Regions from separate parts of the Homo sapiens genome. Here region 1 is linked to region 2. The links are contacts of gene promoters, found by promoter capture Hi-C in human tissues and cell types (Jung and others, 2019). All regions are on one chromosome and are shown on one strand. The core of a region is centred on a gene start or on the middle of the fragment in contact, and the rest is flanking DNA. Distances in the headings are between cores, read along the strand shown.

The links. The method cuts DNA at HindIII sites, captures the fragments that hold promoters and counts their contacts. A contact is called where the count stands out against the background at its distance.
Region 1: a contact is called between a fragment that was not itself captured here and the fragment with the promoter of FST in region 2, in 2 of the 25 tissues and cell types used here (H1 embryonic stem cells and pancreas).

What each region holds. Positions count from the first base shown.
Region 1 is chr5:53,798,843-53,804,791 of GRCh38, reverse strand. The region is part of intron 1 of LINC02105 (long intergenic non-protein coding RNA 2105); the gene reads left to right. Among named protein-coding and RNA genes, the nearest start is that of LINC02105, 18 kb to the left of the region's middle. RefSeq lists a silencer at 4,887-5,087. The HindIII fragment of the contact is 3,354 bases long and covers 1,833-5,186 here.
Region 2 is chr5:53,475,776-53,482,272 of GRCh38, reverse strand. FST (follistatin) reads right to left here and starts at 1,644. Exons shown (of 6, transcript NM_013409.3): 1 at 1,397-1,644. The coding sequence starts at 1,481. RefSeq lists an enhancer at 342-411. The HindIII fragment of the contact is 11,038 bases long and covers 1-6,497 here.

The DNA of each region.
Region 1 (5,949 bases), core at 2,260-4,759, 320 kb before region 2:
GTTCCTTTCCATGTTTAGTGCTTCCTTTGGGAGCTCTTTTAGGGCAGGCCTGGTGGTGACAAAATCTCTCAGCATTTGCTTGTCTGTAAAGGAATTTATTTCTCTTTCACTTATGAAGCTTAGTTTGGCTGGATATGAAATTCTGGGTTAAAAATTCTTTTCTTTAAGAATGTTGAATATTGGCCCCCACTCTCTTCTGGCTGGTAGAGTTTCTGCCGAGAGATAAGCTGTTAGTCTGATGGGCTTCCCTTTGTGGGTAACCCCACGTTTCTCTCTGGCTGCCCTTAACATTTTTTCCGTCATTTCAACTTTGGTGAATCTGACAATTATGTGTCTTGGAGTTGCTCTTCTCGAGAAGTATCTTAGTGGCGTTCTCTGTATTTCCTGAATTTGAATGTTGGCCTGCCTTGCTAGATTGGGGAAGTTCTCTTGGATAATATCCTGCAGAGTGTTTTCCAACTTGGTTCCATTCTCCCCGTCACTTTCAGGTACACCAATCAGACGTAGATTTGGTCTTTTCACTTAGTCTCATATTTCTTGGAGGCTTTGTTCATTTCTTTTTATACTTTTTTCTCTAAACTTCTCTTCTCACTTAATTTCATTCATTTCGTCTTCCATCGCTGATACCCTTTCTTCCAGTTGATTGCATTGGCTCCTGAGGCTTGTGCATTCGTCATGTAGTTCTCGTGCTGTGGTTTTCAGCTCCATCAGTTCCTTTAAGGACTTCTCTGCATTGATTATTCTAATTATCCATTCGTGTAATTTTTTTTCAAGGTTTTTAACTTCTTTGCCATTGGTTCAAACTTCCTCCTTTAACTCGGAGTAGTTTGATCTTCTGAAGCCTTCTTCTCTCAACTCGTCAAAGTCATTCTCCATCCAGCTTTTTTCCATTGCTGGTGAGGAGCTGCGTTCCTTTGGAGGAGGAGAGGCGCTCTGATTTTTAGAGTGTCTGGTTTTTCTGCTCTGTTTTTTCCCCATCTTTGTGGTTTTACCTACCTTTGGTCTTTGATGATGGTGATGTACAGATGGGTTTTTGGTGTGGATGTCCTTTCTGTTTGTTAGTTTTCCTTCTAACAGTCAGGACCCTCAGCTGCAGGTCTGTTGGAGTTTGCTGGAGGTCCACTCCAGACCCTGTTTGCCTGGGTATCAGCAGCGGAGGCTGCAGAAAAGCGGATATTGGTGAACCGCAAATGCTGTTGCCTGATCGTTTCTGTGGAAGTTTTGTCTCAGAGGAGTACCCAGCCATGTGAGGTGTCAGTCCGCCCCTACTGGGGGATGCCTCCCAGTTAGGCTACTTGGGGGTCGGGGACCCACTTGAGGAGGCAGTCTGCCCATTCTCAGATCTCAAGCTGCGTGCTGGGAGAACCACTACTCTCTACAAAGCTGTCAGACAGGGACATTTGAGTCTGCAGAGGTTACTGCTGCCTTTTGTTTGTCTGTTCCCTGCCCCCAGAGGTGGAGCCTACAGAGGCAGGCAGGCCTCCTTGAGCTGTGGCAGGCTCCACCCAGTTCGAGCTTCCTGGCTGTTTTGTTTACCTACTCAAGCCTTGGCAATGGCGGGCGCCCCTCCCCTAGCCTCACTGCTGCCTTGCAGTTTGATCTCAGACTGCTGTGCTAGCAATGAGCGAGGCTCCGTGGCCGTAGGACCCTCTGAGCCAGGTGTGGGATATAATCTCCTGGTGTGCTGTTTGTTAAGCCCATCGGAAAAGCGCAGTATTAGGGTAGGAGTGACCCAATTTTCCAGGTGCCATCTGTCACCCCTTTCTTTGACTAGGAAAGGGAATTCCCTGACCCCTTATGCTTCCCGGGTGAGGTGATGCCTCACCCTGCTTCAGCTCATGCATGGTGTGCTGCACCCACTGTCTGGCACTCCCCAGTGAGAAGAACCTGGTACCTCAGTTGGAAATGCAGAAATCACCCATCTTCTGCGTCACTCATGCTGGGAGCTGTAGACTGGAGCTGTTCCTATTCAGCCATCTTGGCTCCCTGTTTTTTTCTTTATTAGTCTTGCTAGCGGTCTATCAATTTTATTGATGGGGGTCTGTTGTGGGGTGGGGGGAGCGGGGAGGCCTAGCATTAGGAGATATACCTAATGCTAAATGATGAGTTAATGGGTGCAGCACAGCAGCATGGCACAGGTATACATACGTAACTAACCTGCACATTGTGCACGTGTACCCTAAAACTTAAAGTATAATAATAATAAAATAAAAAAATAATAATAATTTAAAATCCAAAAAAAAAATTTTTTATTGATGTCTTCAAAAAACCAACTGCTGGATTCATTGATTTTTTTGGAGGGCTTTTGTGTCTCTATTTCCTTCAGTCCTGCTCTGATCTTAGTTATTGCTTGCTTTCTGCTAGCTTTTGAATTTGTTTGCTTCTGCTTCTCTAGTTCTTTTAATTGTGATGTGAGGGTGTCGATTTTAGATCTTTCCTGCTTTCTCTTGTGGGCATTTAGTGCTATAAATTTCCCTCTACACACTGCTTTAAATGTGTCCGAGAGATTCTGGTATGTTGTGTCTTTTTTCTCATTGGTTTCAAAGAACATCTTTATTTCTGCCTTCATTTCGTTATGTACCCAGTAGTCATTCAGGAGCAGGTTGTTCAGTTTCCACGTAGTTGTTTGGTTTTGAGTGAGTTTCTTAATCCTGAGTTCTAATTTGATTGTACTGTGATCTGAGAGACAGTTTGTGGTGGTTTCTGTTCTTTTACATTTGCTGAGGAGTGCTTTACTTCAACTACGTGGTCAATTTTGGAATAAGTGTGATGTGATGCTGAGAAGAATGGATATTCTGTTGATTTGGGGTGGAGAGTTCTGTAGATGACTATTAGGTCTGCTTGGTGCGGAGCTTAGTTCAAGTCCTGGATATCCTTGTTAACCTTCTGTCTCATTGATCTGTCTAATATTGACAGTGGGGTGTTAAAGTCTCCGGCTCTAAGGACTTGCTTTATGAATCTGGGTGCTCCTGTATTGGGTGCATATATATTTAGGATAGTTAGCTCTTCTCGTTGAATTGATCCCTTTACCATTATGTAATGGCCTTCTTTGTGTCTTTTGATCTTTGTTGGTTTAAAGTTTGTTTTATCAGAGACTAGGATTGCAACCCCTCCTTTTTTTTTGCTTTCCATTTGCTTGGTAGATCTTCCTCCATCCCTTTATTTTGAGCCTATGTGTGTCTCTGCACGTGAGATGGGTTTCCTGAATACAGCACACTGATAGGACTTGACTCTATCCAATTTGCCCATCTGTGTCTTTTAATTGGGGCATTTAGCCCATTTACATTTAAGGTTAATATTGTTATGTGTGAATTTGATCCTGCCATTATGATGTTAGCTGGTTATTTTGCCCATTACTTTATGCAGTTTCTTCCTAGCCTCAATGGTCTTTACAATTTGGTATGTTTTTGCAGTGGCTGGTACCAGTTGTTCCTTTCCATGTTTAGTGCTTCCTTTGGGAGCTTTTGTAAGGCAGGCCTGGTAGTGACAAAATCTCTCAGCATTTGCTTGTCTGTAAAGGATTTTATTTCTCCTTCACTTATGAAGCTTAGTTTGGCTGGATATGAAATTCTGGGTTGAAAATTCTTTTCTTTAAGAATGTTGAATATTGGCCTCCACTCTTTTCGGGCTTGTAGAGCTTCTGCCGAGAGACCCACTGTTAGTCTGATGGGCTTCCCTTTGTGGGTAACGAAACCTTTCTCTTTGGCTGCCCTTAACATTTTTTCCTTCATTTCAACCTTGGTGAATATGACAATTATGTGTCGTGGAGTTGCTCTTCTGAAGTATCTTAGTGGTGTTCTCTGTATTTGTTGAATTTGAATGTTGACCTGCCTTGCTAGGTTGGGGAAGTTCTCCTGGATAATATCCTGCAGAGTGTTTTCCAACTTGGTTCCATTCTCCCTGTCACTTTCAGATACACCAATCAAACATAGATTTGGTCTTTTCACATAGTCCCATATTTCTTGGAGGCTTTATTTATTTTTACTCTTTTTTTCTAAACTTCTCACTTTATTTCATTAATTTGATCTTCAGTCACTGATACCCTTTCTTCCCCTTGATTGAATCAGCTATTGAAGCTTATGCATGTGTCATGTAGTTCTCGTGCCATGGTTTTCAGCTCCATCCGGTCATTTAAGGTCTTCCCTACACTGTTCGTTCTAGTTAGCCATTCATCTAATCTTTTTTCAAGGTTTTTAGCTTCCTTGCGACGGGTTCGAACATCCTCTTTTAGCTCAGAGAAGTTTGTTATTACTGACCTTCTGAAGCCTACTTCTGTCAACTCATGAAAGTTTTCTCCATCCAGGGTTGTTCCATTGCTGGCAAGGAGCTGCTATCCTTTGGAGGAAAAGAGGCACTCTGGTTTTTAGGATTTTCAGCTTTTCTGCTGTGGTTTCTCCCCATCTTTGTGGTTTAATCTACCTTTGGTCTTTGATGATGGTGACCTACAGATGGGGTTTTGGTGTGGATGTCGTTTTTGTTGATGTTGTTGCTATTCCTTTATGTTTGTTAGTTTTCCTTCTAACAGTCAGGTCCCTCAGCTGCAGTTCTGTTGGAGTTTGCTGGAGGTGCCCTCCAGACCCTGTTTGCCTGGGTATCACCAGCAGAGGCTGCAGAACAGCAAATGTTGCTGCCTGATCCTTCCTCTGGAAGCTTTGTCTCAGAGGGGCACCCGGCTGTATGATGTGTCAGTTTGCCCCTACTGGGAGGTGTCTCCCACTTAGGCTACACGGGAGTCAGGGACCCAGTTGAGGAGACAGTCTGTCTGTTCTCAGAGCTCCAACACGGTGCTGGGAGAACCACTGCTCTCTTCAGAGCTGTCAAACAGGGACATTTAAGTCTGCAGAAGTTTCTGCTGCCTTTTGTTCAACTATGCCCTGCCCCCAGAGGTGGAGTCTATAGAGGCAGCAAGCCTTGTGGTGCTGTGGTTGGCTCCGCCCAGTTCGAGCTTCCAGGCCACTTTGTTTACCTACTCAAGCCTCAGCAATGGCAGACGCCCCTCCCCCTGCTGGGCCGCTGCCTTGCAGGTTGATCTCACTGCTGAGCTAGCAGTGAACAAGGCTTCATGGGCGTGGGACCTGCCAAGCCATGCGGGGGATATAATCTCCTGGTGTGCTGTTTGCTAAGAACGTTGGAAAAGCGCAGTATTTGAGCAGGAGTGTCCCGTTTTTCTAGGTGCTGTCTGTCACAGCTTCCCTTGGCTAGGAAAGGGAAACCCCATGACCCCTTGTGCTTCCAGGGTAAAGTGACGCCCCGCCCTGCTTCAGCTTGCCCTCCGTGGGCTGTATCCGCTTTACAACCAGTCTCAATGAGATGAACCAGGTACTTCAGTTGGAAATGCAGAAATCACCCATCTTCTGCATCAATCATGCTGGGAGCTGCAGACCAGAGCTGTTCCTATTCAGCCATCTTGGAATGGACACCTCAAATTACTTTTAACCATAGTGACAATAACAAAATTCTTCCGTGTCTGCTTAATCTAATATACCCACAGAACCCCAAAATGTCTACTAAATAAGGGGTCATGGTGTCTGCACCTTGCTTCTTATAGGTTTTGAGGTGTTGAGATTGAATTCATTCTTTATATGTTACCATTGCCTTACAAGGAAAATTGGTGCAATGCCTTTTATTGCATGTTCCACTGCTTATACTGTGCTTTTTTATACACAGCATTGCTCATTCCCTCCTAGAACTCTGCCCTCTTCCCTTCAGCCCATTACCAAGCTTGTTTCTTGCCTTCCTTGAGGGCTTTCTTATATAGATATTATTCCTAAGAAATACTGTCAATGCTTTCCTGGAGAGCAGAGGCTTGAAGCAAACTCATAGTGTAGAACAAGGCAGACACTGCTGGTCTTGTCTGCTGACAAGAAGAACCACAGATCCAGGGATTGAAACAAGATGTATGCACCCTCCGGGCCCTGGTCAGCTAAGGAGGACAGCTAAGAGACTAAC
Region 2 (6,497 bases), core at 395-2,894:
AAAAAGGAAGAAAGAAAGAGAGAGAGGAAGAAAGAAAAGAAAGAGAGAGAGAGAGAAACAGATCAAGCAAAAGGCACTTCTGAAAAATGAAAGCAAAAAAGCAACCCGGCCCAGCCCGGAGCTACCCCGCGCGGCCTCCAGGCGCAGCCAGCCCGACGGGCCCGTTTTGCAATCCGCCAGACCGGAGCACGCCCGCGGCCACCGCGATCTTTCGAAATCTCCGAGGGCTGCTTTCCTCCGCGCCCACGTCCGGGCACCAGGCAGAGCCTCTCCTCTAAAGGCGGGCAACCCAGCGCAGTGCCATGCAGACGGCGAGGGGCAGTGCCCAGGAGGGCAGTTTACAACATACTTAAAATGTTAACGCTGAAGCAGGGAAAGTAATGCCTTAAGGTGGGGGGAGGGGGGAGTCTTCCTACCATTTCACGGTTATAAGTACCTATCTCATACCTAGCAAGAAATATTTGCAAGTGATTTCTCCCTCTTCCCCCTTTTTAATGTTCGGATTTGGGTCGAGAAGACTTCTCATGAATCACCAATATGACTTTAACAATCATTGGATCGCAAGCTGCTATTATTATTTTAAACATTCTGCCCAAAGACTAATTGAAATAAACAAATCTATTTTTAAAAGGCAAGCTTCAGAAATTTGCTCTTAACCCATTTCAGAATTTAAGTCAGTTATGGGCTGCTCACTGTTTTACAGAAAGCTAAGGGTCAGAAAGAAGAATGAGGCAGAGGGGAAAAAAACTGTAAAGTGCTCAAAGCACTTTGGGGTAATAATTTGGCTTTTTTTTTTTTTTTTTTTTTTTTGCGAGAATGGGGGATGGGGTTGGAAGAAGCATCCACTAGGCAGAAAGCTACTTCCCTTGAAAATCTTCAGCACCCACATTTCCAAGTTTGGGCAAAGTTTCTGAAACCACGTCCCCCAGCCACCAAATAAAATTCAGTATCTCTCCCCCAAACCCCCAGGTTTTCTTTTCTTTCTTTCCTTTTTTTTTTTTAAGTATCCAAAAGATGTGGGAGGGAGAGAGATGAGACTGCAAATGGGTCGACTGAAATCTCCAGGCTACTACTGATACTTGTTCCCTTCTTCAGAGCCAAACAGAGGAGATCACATCTAAAGTTATCATGGCCAGAACTTGGAGCATTTAACCCTAACTACTAAGACCCCAGCTCGCTCCCTTTCCTTTTTCAAGATAACCGAGCTCCAAACTCAGTTCCCAGTCCTAAAGTGTCATTGCCTACAATTTTCCCACTCCTCTCCATCCCGGAGTCCCCAAGTTGGTTCAACATCTTCCGAGAGCAGCGTTGCTCAGAACAGACCAAGTGGAGACCACAGAAAAGTCGACCCCCCTGTCCTCAGCCAAGCCTCCCCAGCGCATCCCCACTCGCTTACCCTGGGCACTGCGGTCCTCCATGAACTGGCAGAGCAGCAGCAGCAGGAGGCAAAGCCCACCCGGCTGGTGCCTCGCGCGGACCATCCTGGGGGCAGGCGCGGGGCGAGGAGCGCAGCGGCGCGGGGAGCCGGCGCGGCGGCGGGTGGCTCGGGCGAGCGGCGCGCGTCGCAGAGGCCAGCGGCGGAGGGCGCAGCGATCCCGGCGCAGCCCCGCGCTCGCCGCCGGCCGCCCGCGCGATTCAATGGACGTCAGAAGCCGGGCGCAGCCGCGCTTTAAATCTAGACGGGGGTCTCCGCGGTTTGCGGTGGGCGGTCTCCCAGTGTGTGGGGCTGTGGGAGGGCGGCCGCGAGCGAGGGTGTGCGCGGCTCCTTGGGGGTGGGGAGCTTTCAAAAGTTCAGTGTGAATCAGGTGACATTTCCCACCTTCTGGAAACCCTTCCCAATTATCTTTCGGAGGTGCCCGAAATCAAAACGGCTGGAAGGGAATCGTCGAGTTCTTATTTGCGTAGGAGCGAGAGGGAGGGGGAAGGCGACCGGGGCGGGGGTTGGGGGCTACGCGTCGGGGGTGGGGAGTGGGGAAGAACACCCACTTCAAGTCCTGCTCGCCGCCGCTCGCCGGCAGCGCCGGCGCGCCCGGGGTGGCGGGTGTGTGTGTGAGTGTGTGTGTGAGTGTGTGTGCGCGCGCGCGCGAGTGTGAGAGGGAGGGCGCGGTGGGGGCGCTGGAGGCGGTGGCGGGGGGAACCCGGGAGTTTGTCTCCGTGCTGCCTCTCCTCCGCTCCAAAGAGACTTTTGCAAACGGCCGAAGAGCCCCGGGCTGCCCAAATATCCCGCCCCGGGTCGGGTCGGAGCGCGCCGGCCTCGCGGCGGTTCCGGGCACCCGCAGCCTGGGCGCGGGACCCGCGAGGTTTTGTGTCTGGGTCTGTGAGTGCCTGACTTTGCAGCCACCCCCAGCCCAGAGGTGTTGCTAGGAACCCCGGCCCCGGCACCTTCCACCCTGGCAGAGCGCTACCGAGACGCGGCCCTTCGTCTGGACTAGTCGGAAGCAAACAAAAATGTTTAACACCTCAGGCCCGGTCTCCCCGCGGCACAGCCTCGCCCTCTCCCTTTCTTTTCTCCCCTTTCACTTCGCGGCGTCTGGAGTCGGAGCCCGGAGCGGGGGCGCCGACGTAGGCGGTCTGGCCCCCCCTTCCTCTCCCGCCTGGAGACTCCCCAGTTTCTGTCCTGTGTGCCTCTGTCTGTCTCTCAGTCTCCTCGGCTCCAATCTCTCTCTCTTTCTGTCTCGTCTTCTCTCTTTTCGCGGAATAAAAAAGATTGCAACATCCATAATGAACTTCTGTAGCCTCAGTTTATTAAGTACAGTGCCTGGCATTCTTCGCTGAAAGTTGGCGGGTCTCTCATTTATAACATTTTTGGCACCGCTGAATGAAACTGAGGAGGCGATATTTCCTTTTATATAAAACGATTACTTCACGGAAAATGCTATATTGTTTATTCCAAAGCTGCCTTTTAAATTTGTTCTTTTCGCATCTGAAGCCCGAAGGACAACAGATAGCGAAGTATGCAGACAAAATTCTTGGACATTCGCAGGTCACTGGGATTTGTTCTACGAATTTCAAATCTGCCCTTCTTCCCCCCCTGCAACTGCCCTCCCCCCGCCAGACCCTCCCCCAGTCCTCCTCTAGCCCTCCCACCCCCCATCTTCCGTCAACCTTCCCCCCTCCACAACTGCAAATAACTCAGTGATAACAGATTTTTTTCCACCAACTGCAGGAGATAGTGCTAATCTTTTAATAAAAGATCCCATTACAATGGGATCTGTCTGGACAGACTATAATAGATCCCGAAATACAGCCGTGCTAATATTAGAAGACAGTTGTTTGGGTGCCTCTCAGACGGGCCCAAGCCCCCCTTTGAAAGTGGGCATGAATCACAAAGCCCCGCGGCCGCCGCACCTGCACCGCGCGCATTCGGTGCAGCAGGCTGGTAAAAGCGGGTGACCTCGCCGCCGCTTTTCGCTTTATAATTACCGTCATGAGGACGGGAGGGGAGGGGCTCGGGCGGCCCGGGGGAGACTGGATTTTGCTCACTTCAGACGGCTGTGGGGGCTCCACATCCTTCTTAATCTTTCCAGAATCATTCTGTCTGTTTCTGTCTCGCTGTCTCTCTCCCCTTCTCCCTTTCCCTCCAGTCCTCCAACTCATTCCCTCTGCTCTCTTTCCCCTACTCCTTCCCCTCTTCTCTCCTTCCCTCCCTCTACCCAGACTCTACCCGTACTCTCCCTCCCTTTTCTCCCTCTCTTTCTTTTCCAGTCTCCTTTTCTCTCTTCCCTCCAACTCATTAATGTAGAGTTGTTTAGTGCCCTCTAATGGCAGACGACATTAACAATTAATAGCAAACTGTCCCCTTTGCAGGAGCCGCCACTCAATGGCAGAGTTCCAAAGCTGAATTTATTTCTTCTTTATTCAGAGAAATGGTATAGTCCTTATACAATGATGTGCTGGAGGGAAAGTTTGTTTTCTCTGCTTAAAGGTTCCCCCACCCCTGCCCAGGGATAAGTTAAAGGAAAGAGAAGCTAACAAGTATTGTTACTTGACTTTTCCCCCTACCCTGTCTTTTAATGGCAGCAAGAGACACAGCTTCTTTTTAAGGTAGAGGTATCAAACCGTATATCCAAGGTTGAAAAATAAACATTCCAAATGCATAAAAGATCTCAGATGGTAAGTAACTGGATCTTACAGCAATGCTATCAATGATCATACATAATTACATGATTTTATATTTGTCTCCAGTTTAAATATATTTATTGGTCCTGAATTGGCCAGTAGCCTCTGGAAACTGGGGTCTTTTTCTTAGACTTTCCACCCTAGGACTATACAAAATATTTAAATTTTACTTATATGCCTAGTTGTATATGAAGTCATCTTGCCTGGAGAAATATAGAATCACGTTTTAATCCATATTTATTTTCTCAATATCTTTGGGAAGATTGTTTTAAAGTTCATAATCTCATCATATTTTATAACCGTATAGCAAGGAGAATAGTGATATAACTTGTATGTTCTTATTAGATTTTAATTTTGTTCATTCCTATATGTACATATAACATGTTGATGTAAAAGGGTCATACAAGTATACACAAAGATTACCTTTTTGGGGGAAGGTCTGTGTAGCTAAATGAAGATTAGAATAGAAGCAATTTGGAGGGGCTAGTCAAAAAATTTTCCATGTTTGAGCAAAACTATTTAGTTTGTCCAGATACTTATTTTAGTTTATGTATATAGAAACAACTGATGTCACAAAAACTTTCTAAATTAATTTAAGTTGTATCCTCACAATTCCAGTATGATTGGGTAAAAGTAAAAATTTCATTTCTATTTCATTTTTTGTCTATGTAATGCCAAATGCTCAGACCAGTCATTTGACTAAATTGACTGCCTTGACTAGTTGTTTTGGCATCATGTAATTGTCTTGGCTAAGCCAAAGCAGACACAGTAGCTCTCATTGTAAAAAATGGCACCACAAATAGGAGTCCCTCAGTACCAGAGGGTGACCCAACACAGGATTACTTCTCGTCCCAGAGAAGGTGACCCTGCAGGTCAGGGTTGAGGTCACTGGCAAACACACTGTGGAAAACATAAGTGCTGTGTTGCTTTTGCCCTTTTGAATAAGCAGCTTGGTGTTTGTTTAGTGATACAAGCTCATCCTGTTTTTCAGCTGCACCTTGGATAGTATTGATCTGTTTGGGAGAATGTCTGCTCCAAATCAGCACAGATCAGTCACCATGACTCTTGCCATCTAGGGTTATTTTCAGATCATAACTGAGGAAATGAGACACAGGTCAATACTGGTTCCTTATAGGCTTTCTGTGGGCATCAGCAAGAGATCCATCCCATTTCTGTGGTATGAAATGGTACCACACCTGTTCAGTGACATCACAGAAAAACAGCTGCTATTTCTTTTACTGTTATATCGCCTGTAAATGTTAAATATTGGGTTTGTAGATATCTAAATGTCAAGGGGACATTTTAAAATAAAAATGTCGCCTTTCATTTTTGTTGTATGCCTCCAAGTTTGACTTCTTATTTTTCCTTTCTGCTCTGCCAAATAAAAATGTAAATTATGAGAAACACAATAGGACCACTTTGTAGCTGAATTTCTGGGCAGCACACAAAAAGACTACTGTTTTCTGATTGGTCTTTTGTCAGCTTCAAAAGCTGTCTTCCTTCTGAAGTTTATAAATTTAAAATATTAGAGTTTAGCAAATGATTCAATCTAACTCCCTAGATAGCTATTTAAACTCATATGACATTGTTATTTGAGACCAGAACTGACCTGGTTAAATTTCAGTACCTAAAAAGAGAATATGGAGGGAGTGGGGTGAGGTTATGTAGAGACTATTTGAAAGTCATGAACTGAGTAGCTTTTTTTTTTTTTTTGCCTTAAGATTAAATGTCAAGCTTTTTTTGAAGTTAGGTGTTTTGCAAAATGAATACATTTTCAAGTGCAAATAATCAATCTTGATTAAACAACAAAAGTTAAGCATTTGAAAAATAGGCTAAAATGATTTTAAAATCAGATTTTATTCTAGGTACAAAACAGTTACTTAATGTGTCATAGTCTTTGGCATTATGCAACTTCATAGGCTAGCATAAGGATTTGAGTAGGGGGATGGGGGCAGTAGTTCTGTATTGGTTGAATCATTACAGAACTAAAAAGTTAAGAAATGTGAGTACGTAGAAGCAATGTTTACCCAAGATATCCAAACTACCGGTCAATTAAGGTTTTAAAAAATCATTAGAAAAATATGTTTTATGTAATATATATATATATATATATATATAACTGAGAAAACAACGGATTACTTGAACTTTTCTCTTTTCAGTGTTGCTTTGGTGTTATACAGAGCTGATCAATCATGGATAGCTCTTCCTTTTTGATACTACTTGTTTCTGTGTAACATTTTTATTGCCTTGCTTTCCCCTTTAATTTTAGAAATATTTTTGGGTTTCCAGAAGTCAGCTAAGCTAGTTGTCACATAGTCACTTAAACTAGCCATATTAATATATTCAAGTTCAACATAATTAAGTAGTTAAAATAAATC